Linked DNA regions of Homo sapiens: region 1 is linked to region 2. The links are contacts of gene promoters, found by promoter capture Hi-C in human tissues and cell types (Jung and others, 2019). All regions are on one chromosome and are shown on one strand. Each heading gives the region's core, a stretch centred on a gene start or on the middle of the fragment in contact. The rest is flanking DNA. Distances are from core to core; before and after follow the strand shown.

Region 1 (5,235 bases), core at 1,471-3,970, 390 kb after region 2:
CAAGCAATTCTCCTGACTCAGCCTCCCAAGCAGCTGGAACTACAGGCATGTGCCACCACGCTCAGCTAATTTTTAGTATTTTTAGTAGAGATGGGGTTTCACCATGTTGGCCAGGCTGGTCTCAAACTCCTCACCTCAGGTGATCTGCCCACCTCGGCCTCCCAAAGTGCTGGGATTACAGGCGTGAGCCACCGCACTGGCTGAATTTCTTTAATGACCAATGATGTTGAGCATATTTTCATGTGCTTAGTTGCCATCCATTTACATTTTTTTTGTATGTTCCATATTTTGCCCATCTTTTTTGTTGGGTTGAGTTTTGAGAATTACTTTTATATTCTAGATAAAAATCCTTTATCAGATAAGTGATTTGCAAATATTTTCTCCCAGTCGGTGGCTTGCTTCTTCATACTAATAGTGACTTTAAGAGAGCAGATGCTGTTCCTTTTGATAAAGTTAATTTGTTCTCTTATGGACTGGGATTTTGATGTCTCATTTAAGAAATCTTTGCCCAGCTCAGGGTTACAGAGATTTTTCTCACCTTTCTTCTAGAAATTTTGTGGTTTGAAGTTTTGCAATTAGATCTGTGACTCATTTTTTGTTAATTTTAGTATATCATGTGAAATATGGATTTTTTTTTTTTTTGCACCAGGATATCCAATTATTCCAGCACTATTTGTTTCCCAGACATGTATATTTGAAAAGAGGCTTTGGAGTGGAAATTATCTACTTCCCTCCATCTGGTGAACTCCTATTCATCCTTCAAAACCCAGGCCAAATGTTCCCTTGGCTAAGAAGTCTTCCCTGGCAAAGTCCAAGTAGCTCTATCAGCTATCTTGTGGTGCCCGCAGCATTTCATGCAACCTCTGACATATTCTTATCTCACATGATTGCATTAATTTCCAAGTCTGTGTCTCCTGCTAAAGTGAAAATCCATGGATGAGGATCATACTCCTAGCACTCAGCAGGAACATACACCTAACACAACACAGGCCCAGCATAGGTGGTGATGAAGGTATTTGCGAGAGAAGGGAGAAAACAATGGTTAAAATAATTGAATAATAAAATATCAAACCAGTGAACCATTTGCTTTTTTAAGCAATGAAATACCTAACTCTCAGCCCCACTCATAGACTATATTCATCAGGAAACCATCGCTGAGTGCCCCTACCCAAGTTAACCACCACTAGTACTGACAAAGAGCACCCTATTGATTGATTTAGGCCAAGCCCTGTTCTAAGCACGTTATACACATCATGTCATTTCACCCTCACAACAACCCTATGAGGCAGATACTGCTACTATCATTACTGTACTGAAGAAGAGACAGACCTACCAGGAGGTTAAGGTCCATGCCTGAGGTTCACCTACGTAACAAGTGTCAGAGCTGGGGCTTGAACTAGACTGATTCCAGGGCCCTAATCCTACCTCTACGTATACTATGTCTGGTTTCCTTTATTTGTCTGAGTCTTCTTTACCCAATAAGCCGAGACCCTACAAAGGCAGTGCCAACTCTTCCACATGACCAACCCTTGCCAACTATGAACCCCAGTACCAAAAGAGACAAGTTGCACGGCGACTCATCACCCTCCCATCTAGCCCCAGACACAGACTCACATCCCACCCGTGAGGGACCTCCTCCTTACCTTGGACCACACGCCCATGCCAAAGGAGCTGCTATCTGCCATCTGGTGCAGGTTCAGCTCCGTCCTGGAAGCACAGAAGGAACCAGGAGTCAGGGGGGCTGTCCACACCAGCCCTGGCAGGGCAGGTGGTCGTCACAGTGTGAGGCTCCACACAACTGCCCGGACACCCCAGGGGCTGTCCCTGTCCCTGGCCTTGGCCCCACTAACTCTGCCCTGGGATATCTTCAATCTCCCAAATATTCCTCACGCACAGCCCTCACTTGGCCCTTCCTAAAGGCCAGGAAATCCCAGGAGAAAGGGTTGTAGAGGAAAATCAGGAGAGCAGGGACTAACCCCAGATCTTCTAATCAGCTGAGCGACCTCACTCAAGGATAATATTAAAACAGTCAACATGAACGAGCCCTTACTGCATGCTAAGTCCTAAGATGACTCATGACAGCCCCACTCCATGGGTACAAATATTATTTCCATTTTACAGTTGACAAAACAGAGGCACTGAGAGTGGGTACCTGCCCCAAGACTTCACAGCTAGCAAGCATGCAACCAGAAGCTGAGCTGAGGTCTGTTGGCCCCTCGAGCCCAGACTCCGCGCTATCCTGCCACGTGCACCTCTCCCGGCCTCAGTCTGCACTTTATGAAGCAACACAATGTTTAAGGCTCCTTCCCGTGTTCAACCTGCAGGTTCCTCGAGAGTGAGACCAGCAGATGGGCCACCCACTTTTGCAGGCTTGAGGAATGCAAGCCAAAGGCGGGGTGGGCACAGCTATGCCCCCTGCCCCTTCGAATCACACTCTCTACTCACAAAAGCATTGTAGAGCCCAGCCTAGGATCCCCAATCCCACGTTGGTTCAAATTGGTTCCTGGAAAGTGGGGATTACTCATCAGTCTCCAGCCAGCTTGTCTGGTTCTGAGGCCTTCAGTGTCCTCTCCCTGGATTCTCTACAGACCCCACACCCCTCTCTGCCTCGTGACTTTGAAGGAGTCTTACCAGCTAGGCTTCAAGTCCAACCCCAGTGCTGCCATGTGGCAGACAAGGTAATTCTCTTCTCTGCAACTCACTTTTTCTTATCTGTAAAATGGGCCCCCTACTCTACTTGCCTCCCAGGATTAAATGAGATATTATACATAAACTCACACTGCCAGGCTGGCATGGAGTAAGTGCTCTGTTTTCCTCACACTCTCTTCCATTCACTGGAAATTAAATCTGACAAATAATTAAGAAGCATCTACCTGGTGCCAAGCCCTGGGCTAGGTACTGGGAAAGCAGAAAGAACAATGACAGGGCCCCAATTCAAAGATCTCCCAGTCCATCTGGTGAGGAAGGGAGACTGCGCTGGCAGGTTTTTGAACCAGAAGCACATACCAGGCACCAAAACAGTATAAAGGAGAAACTGAGGAGCAAGAATCAGGCAGTGCTCCTCTAAAAAAGGGATCTGGAGTAGGGTTTTGAAGGATGAATAGGAGTTTCCCACATGAGTGCATGGGAGAAAGGACATTTGTGCAAGTGAGAACCCGTTTTTGACCTTTGGAAGCTTCCATATGGGTGACGGACCAAGTTGGCAGCAGCAGAGGTAGAGAAAGGGAAGTAATTGGGGGATCACCAATGAGGCTTCAGAATGACAATGACTCCCTGAGGGGGCTGAGTTGCTCCAAGCACTTTACTCACTCTCTTAGGGTCCCTGAAACTCATCTGGGCCACCTCTTCCTCTCAGAGGCAGCTTTGGCCCAGCTCCTAAGGATGCCAAACTCAATAAGGATGCCACCAGCATGGAGGGCCCCTGGCCTAGGCCTGGCTTGGAATGAACGTCTGGCATCCTCTGCTAGCCACAGTTGAGCCTCATCCTTCCTGGGCCCACCCCAGGGTAAGCCTCCAAATCCCCCTCTCCAGGAGGCAATGCTTCTATCCCCAGAGCCAAGCCCCACCCATGGGGTACAGAAGAGAGAGCCCCAGTGTGGAACTCCAGGGCTGGAACAAGGGTGATGTGTGTGTCTGAGAGATGTTCTGAGAGGTGAGAAAATGGAGGTCCCAAGAGGTGAGGCCACGGGGCTGAAAGTGGGATTCCTATGTTCAGGGCCCACCTACCTACTCCTTCCCACATTACACCATTACTATGCACCGCACATGGCCCCTGCTGCCTTGACATGCGATCTCATTTAAATGCCTACGGGGTTGGCACTAGTAGGAACCCATTTTACAGGAGGAGAAACCAAGGCTCAGAGAAGCCCATGTGGGGCAAAGCCCAGATCAAACCCATGTCTCTCTGAATCCAAAGTCATTTCTTTGGATGACCTGGTCAGGGCCTGGTCAGGGCCTGTCAGGGGTATCAAGGCAGATCAAATCCTCCAAAAACAAGAACACACACACACAAAGCATTTGCTATGTCCGGGCACTATTTTAAGAAGTATTGTCTGCCTGATCATATTTTAATCCTCACCACAACACTGGGATACAGTCACATCTATTTTTGTAGATAAGGAAAGTCAGGCTCAGAGAGGTGAAGTCATTAGCTCAAGGTCACACAGCCAACAAGTGGAGAAGCCAACATACAAATCCACACAGCCTTGTCCTCGAGTCTGTGGTACCTGTCACTCTGCTATACCACCCCACTCCAAGTTCTTCTACAGATTCTCAAGATCTTCTAGAAGTTTCCCTGCTGCTCAGTTACAATCACTCTAAAAACTGGGAGTTCCCTCTCTACTCTGCCTTCTCTCTGCAGGTTACAGCTGTCCCTCCAGCCTTAGCCAGGACACTCCAGACAGGTTGAGGCTGTCCTTCAGATGGGGAGGGAAGGTTGGGGAACAAACAATGGTGAGGTTAGAGCACAGTAACCACAAATTATCACCCCTCATGTGGGAAAACCCACTTTTTCCTCTCCCCGACACTTCACTAGGACCATGCCCATCCATCCAACAGAGGAGGAAACCAAGGCTCTGGGAGAGGAAGCCACATGAGCCACATGCCTAAGGATGCCCTGTAGATTTGGGGAAGGGCAGAGATGGCTTTTTAGGCCACCTCCTCCAGGAGGCCCTCCAAGATGAGGCTTGCCTGACTACCCAGCTCACTGCTCCACTCAGCTCCAGGTCCATCCTGAGGAACCTCATGTAGGCATACCCTACCATACACCCAAAGCTCCCACAAAAGTTTAGAAACTTCTGGAAGACATGGGGGTCTGCTGTCCCTCTCCCTCTTCCCATACCGCTGCCAGGGCCAGTACTGACATGCCACTATCACAGCAGACAGCCTTGACTCCCAGCATTTATAAAGAGCTGAATGTAAATTATCTCTCTTAATCCTATAAGGTCTATGCAAGGTGTTGTTTCCACATTACAAAGGAAGAAACCGAGGCTCAGGGTGGATGACATGTGACCTATAAAGAGCTGAATGTAAATTATCTCTCTTAATCCTATAAGGTCTATGCAAGGTGTTGTTTCCACATTACAAAGGAAGAAACCGCGGCTCAGGGTGGATGACATGTGACCAAAGTCACCCAGCCCATGAGCTGCGTGTACCCAGACAGCTGGAATCGGACGCCATGTTCCTAATCCCTGGGTCCCACGGCCTCTCAGTGCTGGGCAGAAGCTAAGGCTGGGC
Region 2 (4,991 bases), core at 620-3,119:
GAAAGAGACAGCTAATTAAGAAAGGCCATGCTGTGGTGGAAACGATTTGTTTAAACCAAATCTCTTTCCCTATCTTTCCCAGAGAAACTGTCCAGACCTGGTGTAAATTGTGGACATTATTGCCCCATAAAAAAGGGGTGGGGGTTCTTCAATGATATGCTTTGTTAAACAAAAGGTGATGAACAATTTCCTTTGCTCTGCACTCTGGGCTCTACATTTAAAAAGACGGGGAGATGGGGGATAAAATGCCTGATTTATGCTGAGGGGGGCACTCCAGGCCACCGGGAAGGGTTGAAGGGAAAGGGACCCAGAGCCAGGGCCCATGGAGCTGAGAGCTGTCCAGGGCCTTTGGTGCTGAAAGCAGGTGCGCGCGCTGGGGGTCCAGAACTCCCCGGAGAAGAACACCGCCTGTCCCCCAACTCCGAGTCAAGACGGTGCAAATGACAGAGGCGGAGCCCCAGATAAGCATAGTGCCTGCGCTCCCTCTGTCTTCAGCCTGGGCAGACCCTGCAGCTGTCTGCTTTTTTACACGTGAGGAGCGCATTTCTGGGACCTTGCAAGAAGGCCGGGTCCTGTGGCCAACTAACCCTCCCATTGATTTTCGGGTCTCCTAGGTGCCTGAGAAAACCCCCGAAGCTCTGAGGGTTAGCTTTGGGTGAGTTAGGCGTTGCACCCCTCTCTCTATCTGGCCCTCTCCCCCACCCATAACTTTTCCTGGGGTACCTTACCGGGGTGGAGAGAGGGTATGGTTCCAGGTCTGAGAAAGAGGAGCTGTCATTCTCTGCTAAATTTGGGCCCCTCTTCCCCTTCAACAAACACGTGGTAGATGAAACTAACACCCCTCACCCCCCATTCCTAACAGTGATCAGAGATGCTAGGCAGTAGGGGAGAGAGTAGAGGGGAGCCCGTTCAGGTTCCCAACTGCTAACTAACATCTCTTCTCCCTCCCCTACCAAGTTCTCAGAGCCCTCAGCCCCCTCCACCGGCCTCTAGCGAAAGCCACACCCAAGTCCGGTATCCTGACGCTTGGCTGAGATCGATCCAGGAACACAGACCCTCGGGGTAGCCTGAACCAAAGGAGTCAAGGGTTTCTGTGGTGTCGGGGGGAGCGGCAAATGCACTGTTTGAGTCTAGTCCTCAGTTGCAGGGTGGGTCAGCTTCTCACCCCCCTTCCTGTCCTCTCCCGGAGAGGAAGATAATTATCTGGCACCTAGCCCCGGGTGCGGTTGCAGAGAAGCGCCGGGAATTTGGGGTTTGGAGGCGACCCCACTCCAAGGAGAACCTCTTTGGCTGCAAAGGAGAATCAGCCCCGCAGCCGGGGAAGACCGAAAGGGAGCCCGCAGCCGAAGCAGGGAAGCGCCCGAGTCCTTCAACACATCCCCGCCTCCACACTCCCATCAGCCCGGGCCAAGGGGACGTGCGGTTCCTAGCCCCGATTTTGGACAGCCACCACCGCTTCCCATCCCGGCGGGTGGTGCCTGAGTCGCCCTGGTCAGCCCCGACCCCTGGCTGCCCCGCTCTCCCGGCAACTTTGCCCCCTGCCCGCCCCGCCCCTCGGGGCGCTTACCTCGCTCCAGCGCTGCCGCCGGGCTCCCCAGGAGCAGAGCGAGGAACAGCGAGATCCCGCGGAGTCCCGCGGCGGGCGGCCGGGCCGCGGGCATCGTGGCTGCAGGGGGCGCGGAGCCGCTGGCTGTGGGGCGGGCGGACGGCGAGGGAGCTGGGGAAGGAGGGCGGCGGTGAGCGAGAAAGGGGAAGCGGGAGCGAGGGAGGAGGCCGCGGGCCGGGGCAGCTTCCGGAGCCCCCTGGGCGGACGCGCGCTCAGCCCCGCGGTCGCTCTGGCCGAGCTGCGCCGGGCGCGGGCGGGCGAGTGAGGAGGAGCCGGCGAGCGAGCGAACGAGCGTGGAGCGAGCGGGAGGAGGGAGGGGGCTGGGGCCGAGTCTGTGCCGAGCGAGTGCAGGGAGGGAGGGGGCGGGCGAGCGGGCAGTGAGCTGGAGGGGCCGCGGCGGCGCCGGGGGTGCCAGCCGCCTCCTCTGGCCGCCGGCCCGTCGGCCCTGCAAAGTTTAACGCCAATTCCCCTTGCGTCCTGGGAGCCGAGCGTTTTCTCTCCCTGCTGACGCTCCCAGCAGCTCTGCCTGGCCAGGCCAGGCTGGAGAGCACCCGGACCATTTTCCAGACGGTGAGATGGAGCCCTGGAAACCGAGCTTATGAGCAGCCCGGAGCTTTCCATTGCCTGCCCAGCCTTCCAGATACATCCCAGTTCCAGTTCTTTCCAGAGCCCTCTGGGATCCAGCCAGCCTGCTTCCCCGCCAGGGCCTCACTGCTTCCAAAGTGAGTCCCCATAACCTAGAAAGTCTGTAACTCTGTGGATCTGGTGACAGCTGTGAATCTACTAGAACACTACACATAGCCACAAAATCGTGCATCTAACACGAGGGGGTCTGGACCCCTCTGAAGCCCAATCACGAACTCTAAATTAAGATCCACCTCCACTTTTTAATCTGAGCCCTGTCTCCCATAACCCCACTGCCGGCAGGGCACTAGCGCTGCGAGGCTTCCTCTCAGGTCAGCCGCTTGCCTCTTCCTGTACCCGCTTCCCTATCTGAGCAGGACTACAAGGCCCACCTCTGCAGCATTCTTGCCCAGGCCTGATTCTCAAGCAAAGTCTTTTCTCCACAAATAGAGGTAGTGAGGGACAATCAATGAGGGAGATAAACAGATACTTGGGGACAGACATTGGCAGAGAGCTAGGTGGGGACAAGCTTATGCACAGTCCTGGAGACTGACTGTCTCTCCCTGCGTAGCCTTGGCAGACCGGTCAGGCTTTACAGGCCTCTCACCCAATTTAGAAGCTGTCCTCCTCCCCCTACCCTACCTTGCCATACTATCTACACACTGCAGCCTGAACAGGCAGAGGGAGCAGATGGAGAGAAGGTTGCAGGCAGCAACAGGGGGAGGAATATGTCTTTAGCAGCGTGGTGGAGCCGGGAGTCCCTAGAAAGAATGGGTGGGGGAGGTGAACACTGGATGGAGGAGGGAAGGAGAAGCACTCTGGCCCAGGGTTTCAGAAGACGCTCCACACCCAGAGCTTCCCCATTTACTCACTCAAACAATGCTCTTTTACAGGCCACTGACTATAGGCCCAGACCTGCCTCAGGCTTTGGGGGACAGAGAGCCCCCCCATAAAATCCTATCTTCAGCTGCAAGAGGTTTCCATTCCTGGCAGTAAACCCAACTGGCTTTTATAAAGAAGGTGGCTGAGGCAGGGATGCAGGAGTGCTGATTTCTCCTTTGGAGAAGATGAAGCACTCCATGCTTTACTGTATGAGGCTGCCAGCTCTCTGTGGAATGACCTTGCCTGTTTGTGGCTATACGCTCAGGCTCTGTATAGTATAATGCAGGCATGCAGCGGGTGCTCAGTGAGACTTGTTCAATGGAAACCTAAAGAAGCAAGGAAGATGGAGGAGGAGGGGAAAGGGAAGAAAGCGAGCGAGAGAAAAACGAAGAGGTAGTTTAGCTCCATACTTGGAGGCAAGGAAACTATTTTTAATTCCTAGGTTCAGGGGTACTTGTGCAGGTTTGTTATGTGTGCAAACTTGTGTCATGGGAGTTTGTTGTACAGATGATTTCACCAACCAGGTATTAAGCCTGGTACTCAATAGTAATTTTTTTCTGATCCTCTCCCTCCTCCTGCCTTCCACCCTCTGGTAGGCCTCTGTGTGTGTTGTTCCCCTCTATGTGTCTGTGTGCTCTCATCATTTAGCTCCCACCTATAAGTGAGAACTTGTGATATTTGGTTTTCTGTTCCTGCATTAGTGTGCTAAGGATAATGGTCTCCAGCTCCATTCATGTTTTTGCAAAGAACATGATCTCATTCTTTTTTATGACTGCATAGTATTCCATGGTGTATATGTACCGTATATATGCTCATTCATTGATGAGCATTTAGGTTGATTCCATGTCTTTGCTCTTGTGAATAGTGCTGCAATGAACATACATGGGCATGTGTCTTTATAATAGAACAATTTATATTCCTTTGGGTATATACCCAGTAATGTCAGACAACCTACAGAATGGGAGAAAAATTTTACAAACTATGCATCTGCAAAAGTCTAATATCCAGCATCTATAAGGAACTTAAACAAATTTACAGGAAAAAAACCAAACAACCCAACTGAGAAGGAAACTATTGTGTAAAGAATCCACTGTTTGCCAGGTGCTGTCCCACACCGAGCATGGTCTCTCATTTCAATTTCATAATCTTCCTGAAAACGAGGTGTGGTTATTGCCATCTGAAAGATAAGTATCTGATTTTTTATGGGGGGTCCCAACCCAGCCAAGGTCACTCAGTCAGGAAGCGGTGGGATTTGGCAGATTCAAGGGCAGCCCTGACTACAGAGCCAGAACCCATTTCACCTTCACAGCCTACTTCCCAGAAATTTGGTGGCTGCCTCTGTGCTATGATTTGGTTGCTACCTGCTGAAGCTTCAACCTCTCATCACTACCAGAAGGACCACATCACTAAAAGTCCATCAATGGGGTTACTCACTTTGGTAAGTACATTGAACTTCTAGATCATTGCTTGCATGCAGGTGTCTTATGTGGAAGAAGTGACACTGTAAACCATTAACCCATTGAACATATGGACCGTGATTTACTCATTCCATTTGCTGGCTAAAACAAGGCACAGAGAAAAGTCTTGAGGAAATGAGACACAGACCTGATTATCTGAGATTGTGATGTTGGGAACATAAAGTGATTATTTAGGAGCAGTATCAAGACTATTTTTGGAAGAAGAAATAGCATAATAGAAATAGAATTCTGAAAGGGACTAGAACAGTTTGCAGATGAAAATCTGCAATCACAATTTTGATAGCCATTTTACAGATGAGGAAACTGAGGGCCAGGGAGGCAAAGTAACTTGCTCGATATCACACACTTGGTTTACCTTTTACCTTTTACTGTTTCCATGGCAGTGATGTTGTGGTCTGTCT

The links. The method cuts DNA at HindIII sites, captures the fragments that hold promoters and counts their contacts. A contact is called where the count stands out against the background at its distance.
Region 1: a fragment that was not itself captured here is called in contact with the fragment with the promoter of SEZ6L in region 2 in 3 of the 25 tissues and cell types used here (H1 embryonic stem cells, dorsolateral prefrontal cortex and mesendoderm cells).

Annotation. Positions count from the first base shown.
Region 1 is chr22:25,781,900-25,787,134 of GRCh38, reverse strand. It overlaps MYO18B (myosin XVIIIB), which reads right to left. Exons shown (of 44, transcript NM_032608.7): 11 at 1,644-1,707. Among named protein-coding and RNA genes, the nearest start is that of MYO18B, 42 kb to the right of the region's middle. The HindIII fragment of the contact is 6,683 bases long and covers 1-5,235 here.
Region 2 is chr22:26,166,340-26,171,330 of GRCh38, reverse strand. SEZ6L (seizure related 6 homolog like) reads right to left here and starts at 1,869. Exons shown (of 17, transcript NM_021115.5): 1 at 1,568-1,869. The coding sequence starts at 1,661. It overlaps LOC105372971 (a long non-coding RNA gene), which reads left to right and starts at 2,097. Exons shown (of 6, transcript NR_188586.1): 1 at 2,097-2,328; 2 at 4,402-4,550. RefSeq lists an enhancer at 1-890 and a silencer at 1,717-1,846. The HindIII fragment of the contact is 7,592 bases long and covers 1-3,621 here.